Regions from separate parts of the Homo sapiens genome. Here region 2 is linked to region 1. The links are contacts of gene promoters, found by promoter capture Hi-C in blood cells and fetal thymus (Javierre and others, 2016). All regions are on one chromosome and are shown on one strand. Each heading gives the region's core, a stretch centred on a gene start or on the middle of the fragment in contact. The rest is flanking DNA. Distances are from core to core; before and after follow the strand shown.

Region 1 (4,551 bases), core at 291-2,790:
GAACACGGGCTGTTCACATTTGTGGTAGGAAAGGTTATTAAGTTTTTTCTTTATCTGTTTTTGTATTGTTGCAACAGGAAACCTACTAAGATTAAAATCCAGCAAACATAAGACAAAGATAAAATGCACAGGGGTTTTGATGCATTAGGTGTTTCCCATAGTACTTCCTATTTTTCAAACTTCGTGTGATTAAAAAAGTAAGTTTTATCCCTGACTAAATTTCAGTGTGGAAATAAAGAAATAAAGATAGCATGTACTTGGCTTAGGTATACTTGTTTTGTTCTTTCAGCTCGTTACGTAAAGATACATTTTTTTTTCTTTCTCATGACATGAAGATAAGCTTTCTTCTTACCAAAACCTAAACTGTGAAGGCAGCACCCAAGCCAAAAGCCTCGAGGCTCTGGTTTCTGTGGTGGGATGGGGAGAGAAGTAGGTTGCACAGATGTAGGATGCCAGCTGACTTCAGAACTTCCGGTCTCAGAGCTAACCAGGCTCGGCAAGCCACAAGAGAGAAGGAGCTTGCATAGGTGGAAGAGCAAAGAAAGCCAGTGCTGCAGAACTTCCGGTGCTCCTCCGCCGATGTCGGGCTGGCGCTGCTCCCGAGCCCTGTGTCCTGTGGAAGAAGTTGGTGAGAATCGTTTTGAATGTAGGCAGCCACTCCTGAGGAGGCTAGCCCTTGCTACATTAAAGGTGGAGCTAGATTTACATTTTATTTTATTTTATTTTATTTTTTATTTTTCGAGATGGAGTCTTGCTGTCGCCCAGGCTGGAGTGCAGTAGCACGATTTCAGCTCACTGCAACCTCCACCTCCCGGGCTCAAGCGATTCACCTGCTTCAGCCTCCCGAGTAGCTGGGATTACAGGGGCACGCCACCATGCCTGGCTAATTTTTTGTATTTTTAGTAGAGACGGGGTTTCACCATGTTGGCCAGGCTGGTCTCAAACTCCTGGCCTCAGGTGATCCACCTGCCTCGGCCTCCCAAAGTGCTGGGATTACAGACGTGAGCCACCATGCCCGGTCAAATTTACCTTTTAGATTCACATATTACCACCAGAAGAATGCTTCCTCTGACAACTGAGCGGTACTCCATCCCCAGAGCCCTTTGTGCAGACTATTATTGCAGTTTCCTAACTTGTTATGACACTCCAGCCTTTTCCTCCAGGTCATCATACAATCCATTTTTAGAGTGATTGTTCTAAAGCACAAATCTTAGGTCACTCCCCTGCTCAAAAACCACCCACTGCTCCCCCAGTTCCACAGAAGAGAGCTCAAATTTCTTAGCTTGGTATTCAAGACCTTCCATGATAGGATCCCTGTCTACTACTCAGCTTACCTCACTTCTCCCCTCCTCCAGCCAAATGAAACTGTTCCCTGTGTATGTTCAGGCTCCCTAGCTTCTGCTCACAGCCTTCTGAATATGAAGAAGGGAAAGTCCCTTACCATTCCATCCGTCTCTACCTGTTTAAATCCTCCCCAGTCTTCAATATTCATTTCAGAGGCTGCGTCTTTCAGGAGGCCAGGTACAATTTCTCTCCCTTCTCCATGCACTTCTCCTGCGGCCTGTGCCTTACATTCTAGCTGTGCGTATTTGTATACTTCCTGTTACACCTTGGTAACCTCATCAAGGGAGAGACTGACTCTGACATTCCAGTGTCTGAATTTCTTTCTTTCTTTTTCTTTTTCTGTGTTTCTTTCTTTCTTTTTTTTTTTTTTTTTTTTTGAGACAGGATTTCACTCTGTCACCCAGGCTGGAGTGCAATGGTGTGAGCATGGCTCACTGCAGCCTCAATTTCCTGGGCTCAGTTGGTTCTCCCACCTCAGCCTCCCGAGTCGCTGGGACTACAGGTGTGCGCCACCGTGCCCAGCTAATTTTTGCATTTTTAGTGGAGATGTGGTTTCACCATGTGTCTAGGCTGGTCTGGAACTCCTGGATTCAAGTGATCCGCCTGCCTTGGTCTCCCAAAGTGTTGGGATTACAAGCATGAGCTACTGCGCCCGGCCTCCAGTGTCTGAATTTCTTATGCTCAGTAAATGTCTTATGCTTAATACATCTTTGTTGAATTGAATGTGGTTATCTGAAATGTACCAAATTAAGTTTTAGAAAACATATCTTTTATCCCCTGTTGGAGGGGGTAGTGTGTAAAGAAATAAAGGAGCTACGCACTGGGTTGGTGTCTGTGAAAGGAAATATGATATGACTTCTTTTTTTTTGCAGAATTTCCCATTTTCCCATTTTATATTATCGAATGTTTTCCAGTCTCTTAGGCTCCTCTCTCTTCCTGCTGCCTTATCCTTTCCCTTTGACATCTGTCACTGGATGTCCTTACCATGATTTTGGATGGGGAAATGAGAAGATGCTTCCTGAAAGACTACACTGAGGGGATTCTCTAATAGATTTTCATTCCATGTGACTTTTTCTGGCTGGGGAGGGAGTAGGGGACCTTCCAGTCATCTCAGGCAGAAACTAATTCAGGTCCTGATCAACCCACTGCCTTAAATTTTAGAATGGTTGCTATAACAATTTTAGAATGGTTGCTATAACAAGATGCCTTAGGAAAAAAAAAATTGACAATGGCCAGAACAGGAAGGTGACTCCGTTTTACACATGTCCCTAGTCCCTCACCTGTGGAGAGGTGGTGAGAGTTTAACTGCTTGCTGTCTTTCCAAGAATGCACGTGGAATTCAAAGAAAAGAACAGTAGAAGGGAAGGAGAGGGTTTAAAGGAAAATTGTCATGGGCTTTGGAAAGACCTGATTGTGTAAAAATTGCTTGCTGGTGTTTGGAAAGAACCCAGGTGCTAACAGATTTTAGACAAACCCAATCTGGAGTTGCCTAAATCATGAATGATTTAATGTGACTGAGTTAATCCATATATCTTGTATACAGTAGTTCCAGCCTCCTCAAATGTAGCAGGAGATTGCCACCTTTCTGAGAGTACCTTTCATTTCTACATGCTGATTTTGTTGTTGTTTTTAAAGGACACTTGAATTGCTTTATTTAGCTTCCAATTTGTGAGATTCTCAAAAATTAAAATTACTCATGACCACAAGAAGATACTTCTGTAGTTATGGATCATTTTCTGCTATTTTTTATAAGGAATACTTTTTTATTGTTGTCTTTTTTATAAGTGATGCACATACCAGGTAGTAATAAAAAGTCATGTTTTCCAGTGCACCCTAAAACTGAACTGCTGTCTCTATTTGAACAGACAAATAAATTATACTGAATATACCTACAACCCTGAAAATCATCTTCTGGCCATTTTTCTTTTTTCCCCACAAAGATCACTAAAGTGGTTTATATTGATTAACATTATTAAATCCACCTCTCATGTTTGCAACTACATGAATTCAATATGCAGTAAGATACAGTTATACAAAGAATGTAACCCAAGCCAAGATGAGAAATAAAACCTCTATACCAATTTTTCAAAACAGGAAACTGTTGCAGAAGTATATATAGTTGTTCTTTTTGTTTCACTAAAATTACATGGATTTAAATGTTCTGTATGAACTAACCTCCTGGATCCATTGTCCTTTTTGCCCAAATTAGCTTTCTTTAAAAGTTAACTCCCCAACACAATTTAATTATCTTAGCTAAAGTTTAGGTTTGATCTCAAGCCATTTGAAACTAGACAGAGTGAAAAAATCTGTGGGTAGTTGGCAGCAGATCCTGATAGAAATATGGCACTTGGCAAAGGCTGTCTGCCTTGTTTTGATTTGCCTTTCTCTTTATGGATGTGGCCTATTTTTGAAATGTTATGATTTAAATTCAGCGATCAAGTGACAAGTCTGACAAAACAGAGCTTACATCCGCAGAGGTTCTGTGGGGGAAAAAATGGAAATGTTCCAGAACTAAAGGAAGTAACCTCAGTTTCACCTGGAAACATTAGTGTTTCGGAGGCAAGGGATTTGGGCTATATATAAAGAGTGAAGGAAAGTGGCCAAGATGCTGGGCCAAAATTGCATCCAGGAATAGAGCAGACATTAAAGAACCAAAAACTATATCTGTTGTTTTCACCGTATCCCTGTAAGTAGCACCTGGGGAGACTGTGATTAAAAAAAAGATGGGAAAGTTCTTTCCTGTGATGGCTTGGATTGTAGCAACAGCCTTCTAACTGGGCCTCTAACTCCAATCTCTCCTTCTCCAGTACTCAGTGTACACTTTGGCCAGATTAAATTCTTGGGAAAACTCTATTCCTTTCTCCTGCTCATGACCCCCATTCCTGTTTGTCCATAAGATTAGGTAAAGGCTGGGTACAGTGCTCATGACTGTAATCCCAGCTCTTTGGGAGGCTGAGGCAGAAGAATTGCTTGAGGCCAGGGGTTCAAGAGCAGCCTGGGCAACATAGCGAGACCCTGTCTCCACAAAAAAATATTAAAAATTCACCAGGTTTAACAGTGGCCTGTGCCCATAGTCTGAATTACTTGGGAGGCTGAGGTGGGAGCATCGCTTGAGCCCAAGAGTTTGAGGTGGTAATGAGCTATATGATTGCACCAAAAAGATTAGGTTAAAGCTTCTTATGCTGATGTGATGCTCCCCCCACCCAG
Region 2 (4,544 bases), core at 1,051-3,550, 80 kb before region 1:
TTGCTGACTTGGGTGGAGAGGAGCCATAGCCCCTTTTTTCTTTATGCTAATTTCATTCTCCTGTTGCCTATTTCCTGTCTGTAGACTGCACATGGCCCCGGGGGGCTTAAGGTGATTTTCCGACCTTGCAATCACCTCTTAGGATTTTTCTGTTAAACACTCTTAGGTGTATGTGACAGCAGTAGGGACAGAATGAACTGGCAGTCCTGTCACACGCCGAGCTCAAAGAGAGATTGGACAGAAAGAGAGAGATAAGGTGGTTTAAAGGCAGAAGTGTCTCATAAACCATTAATACTAGGGAGGACGAAATTCTTATAGTAGTGGTGGCTCAAAAATGATGACAACAAAGCTTTGCAGAGCATCTGCTGTGAGGCGAAGAGGTGAGATTCTGGGAAGCCAGGACAAGACACTGTACCCAGGAACTTTATGGTCCAACTGGGTGGGGTGGGAAGCATGGAAATAAATCAATCCCAATGCAGGGCGGTCTGTGTTTAGGGTGCCAGCTGATGGCTCTCATTGGAGTGCAGGAGAGTGAGCACATCCAGGCAGGAAGCTTTCTGAAAGGTGGCTTTATGGAGGACATGGGATTTGAGTTGGTTTTTAAATGTCTCGTAGTAGGACAAACTAGGAAGAAGGAGGAAGGGTGCATTTGGGAGCAGAGGTCAGCAAGGGAAGAGAGAAAAAGGAAGCCTTGCAAAGGGCTTCCAGGAACAGTGAAGCGAGCAGCTTGGCTGGAGCAGAGGGTGTGTATGGGCAACAGTGGGAGATTGGATGGGAGAGAATGGACAGTGCCAGTTTGTGGAGTTCCAGTTTGTGAAAACCCGCTAAGGAGTTTGGGGTTTATCTTGTGACCGTGGGGAGCCATGACGACTTTTGATCAGAGGTTGTGATGTGTGCCAAGTGGTGTTTTAGGATGAATAATCTAACCATGATGTATATAGAGACTCAATGGCTTGTTTACTGCCTGGACTGCGTGATGCTGTTTCTCAGGCCATCTTCCAAGGACAAATGACGTTTTATTGTATACAGGTAGGCTCCCTGGTATTGTATTAGGAACTGACCCTCACAGTTTTATTAGTTAGGAGAGGGAAATGTTCTATCACCAGCATCTCTTAAATCTTCAGGGGCAATATTTTATCAGTCTTTGAAATGTGGACTGAATGATGGATATGCGATCCACTCTTAAATACAGCACTGCTAAGCTTAGCCCTGCAATCATGTGGTTATGAAATATTATCCAGCCTGAAACCATAAGAAAAACCCGCTTAGTCTGACCTTCTCACAACACATGAGAGCCCAACCTTTGAAAGGATGTGGAAAAACTGGAGAACTGCTGACTGCACAAAATGCAAATGAGAATTCCACGTGGAGGGATTCTTCTCTGACTTCTTGGTATTTTCTTCTCTTGCATGTTTGCTCCAGACCACACCGCCTGTTTCTGCTCCAAATGTTTCCAAAGCGAAAAGTCTCTGCCTCAGAGATTTGAGGCACTTGCTTGCTGGCGACCTACGTGTCGCAATGAGAGAAAGGAAAGGGGTGGTGGGGAAGAGAAAGTGGGTAGGGAGGTCTTTTGGTCTTACTGTCCAATAAGACCTTGTGGCCTGTAACATGGGTGTAAAGAGCCTCCATCTTTACCTTTGTAGGGATAAAAGTGAGTTTTGTGGATGGGCGCAGTGGCCCATGCCTGAAATCCCAGAACTTTGGGAGGCTGAGGTTGAGGCCAGCAGTTTGAGACCAGCATGGTGAAACCCCGTCTCTACTAAAAATACAAAAATTAACCGGGCGTGGTGGTGCGTGCCTGTAGTCCCAGCTACTCGGGAGGCTGAGGCAGGAGAATTGCTTGAACCCGGGAGGTGGAGGTTGCAGTGAGCCGAGATCACACCACTGCACTCCAGCCTGGGCGACAGAGCAAGACTCTGTCAAAACAAAACAAACAAAAAGTAAGTTTTGTAACTACCTGGATGCACATTTAGGATGCAGAATAAAAAAAACAGAAAAAAAGATGGATTTCATCTTTATTTCTATTCATTGTTAACTCTTTCTGCATTAGAACACAGAAGCTTAGCACTTTGCAATTTAACAGCCAGTTAAACACCCCTTAACCCCTTAGCACCAGCCAATTGCCTTTCTTCCTAGCATATTTCCATCCCTCCCGTCCCCACTGATACTGTCCTGATTGCTGCAGTCACTCACTATTAGCTAATTTGCTGCCTTGGGAGATGCTGCGTTAAGATGGCTCTCTGATTAGGTGGGAATTGATTAAGCAGAAACTGCTTTACGCTGTTACTAGAACTGTCGAAGCAGTGTGAGAGCTCCTAATTCTGAGCCTCCTCTCATTTTGCTGTTGTCTCAATTAAGTTACTTTTCTATGATTTGTGGCTCATTAGCGTCAGTGACTCCTAACTGCCTATTCTCATCCTTGAGTCTTTCCAGCCATATGTGAATGATACATGCTCAGAGTCCCTTCTAATTATGATAATTTCCTCTTGTCCTCCTGAATGCTGGTGACAGCGCTAATAGCAAGATGGAAGTGAAGCTTTGGATAGAAATTCTATGTCTTGAAACTCCTTGGGACCTCTTCCATACCACCCCTACCTGTTTCCCTCTGGTCAAGGCTTGAGTATTAGCTGCGTGGTTAAGCTCTATCATCTGGGACTGCAGGGCCTAAGTTTAAAACCTTGAGTGAAATTATTCTGCTTCTTTAGGCCTCATTATTCTGAAAGACTGGATAGGAGTGGTATTTATCCCAGACAGTAGCTTTGAATTTGGATGGAGATAATGTATGTAAAGGCCTCTGCAGTCACGGTCTCCAGAGATGAGGCTCTTACTCCCTGTCTTCCAGATCCTCACTGGAATGCACCCTTTGCAAGACACCTCCTCCAGCCCAGCTGTTCCTTTCTTGAATTCCCATAGCACTTCACTGGTATTTCTTTCTAGCACTTAACAGTTATGTGCCTGACATGATGGTTAAAATTTTACCTTCCCTTTGAGACTCTGAGCACCTCTAGGCTAGGGAAGGGCTTGGTGCACTCCGTGTCCTCTATACTTGTGGGTACCAAACCGAGAAGAGGATCAATATCACTTGAGGAGCTTTGAAAAATAGATTCCTTTGGGAGGCCGAGGTGGGCCAATCACAAGGTCAGGAGATTGAGACCATCCTGGCTAATGCAGTAAAACCCCGTCTCTACTAAAAATACAAAAAATTAGCTGGCCTTGGTGGCAGGCACCTGTAGTCCCAGCTACTTGGGAGGCTGAGGCAGGAGAATGGCGTGAACGTGGGAGGCAGAGCTTGCAGTGAGCCGAGATTGCGCCGCTGTACTCCAGCCTGGGCAACAGAGCGAGACTCCATCTCAAAAAAAAAAAAAAAAAAATTCCTGGGTTCTAGCCCCAGAGAGCATCCTTATGAGACAGGCTGGAGCCTAGGCACCTGGATTTTTTATGAATGCCACAGGTATTTGTGCTGTGGGTGGGCCTCAGACCCCAGTTTTAGAATCAGTTCTATAAGGCAGTGGTTTCCAACCTTATCAAACCCAGCATCCTCTTTTATATATTTTGTAACATCCTCTTCCTGAAATGGAAACTCACAGATAATAGAACTCACACACAATATTTAAAAATAAATCAATGTAATACTCTAATTATAATATAAAGGAGAAACAACATGAAAATAATTTATAATAAAGTAGCATGTATTTCAATATGGGGACAGCTATATTGAAGACCTAATGAAATAGTTACATTTTTGCTCATAAATCAGTTTGTATTTAAGAAATATTCAGCTGAATAGTTTTAGTTATATATTAGTACTCTTATATATAACCCTAGAAATAAGGGCAAAAAAGTCTTTTCTTGTTTATCACTAAGAATATGACAACTATAAATATAGAGCAATACAGGTGTGTTATAGAGATGTCTCATTAATCATGAATGTCATTTCTGTAAGAGTCATCATTTTTAGAGATGGTGTAAAAAACTCTTAGCAAAGTTCTTTTTTTAATTTTCCTTTTTTTTTTTTTTTTTTTGAGACCAAGTTTCGCTCTTTTTGCTCATGCTGGAGTGCGGTGGCATGATTTCAGCCCCCTGCAACTTCTACCTCCCAGGTTCAAGTGATTCTCCTGCTTCAGCCTCCCAAGTAGCTGGGATTACAGGTGCGTGCCACCATGCCTGGCTAATTTTTTATTTTTACTAGAGACAGGGTTTCACCATGTTGGCCAGGCTGGTCTCGAACTCCTGACCTCAGGTGATTTGCCCACCTTGGCCTCCCAAAGTGCTGGGATTACAGGCGTGAGCCACTGCGCCCGGCTAGTAAAGTTCTGAACAAAATACATTACATCCTTCCCTCAATTTATAGGGTAATCAAATTCCTAGAGAATTTAGTGTATTTAAAACTAAACAATATTTTATGAAATGCATAGTTAAGATCTAGACTTAGATAATTATATAAACTCTTTCCCCCTCTTTTATGAAAATCATGTGGGATGTGGGCCAATCCACCATGAAAAGAAATTTTCTAGAGCACTGTAGGACTGTAGCGTTCCTGCTCC

The links. Contacts are between HindIII fragments. The CHiCAGO score rates a contact against its expected background, and 5 or more counts as called.
Region 2: a fragment that was not itself captured here is called in contact with the fragment with the promoter of ANKRD44-AS1 in region 1 in 11 of 17 cell types (total B cells, naive CD8 T cells, naive B cells and 8 more); the score reaches 13.9 in total B cells.

What each region holds. Positions count from the first base shown.
Region 1 is chr2:197,194,980-197,199,530 of GRCh38, reverse strand. ANKRD44-AS1 (ANKRD44 antisense RNA 1) reads right to left here and starts at 1,540. Exons shown (of 2, transcript NR_135584.1): 1 at 1,442-1,540; 2 at 258-613. The region is part of intron 1 of ANKRD44 (ankyrin repeat domain 44); the gene reads left to right. RefSeq lists an enhancer at 425-494. The HindIII fragment of the contact is 4,177 bases long and covers 343-4,519 here.
Region 2 is chr2:197,275,754-197,280,297 of GRCh38, reverse strand. The region is part of intron 1 of ANKRD44 (ankyrin repeat domain 44); the gene reads left to right. All of the region lies in intron 5 of ANKRD44-IT1 (ANKRD44 intronic transcript 1), which reads left to right. Among named protein-coding and RNA genes, the nearest start is that of ANKRD44-IT1, 24 kb to the left of the region's middle. The HindIII fragment of the contact is 476 bases long and covers 2,063-2,538 here.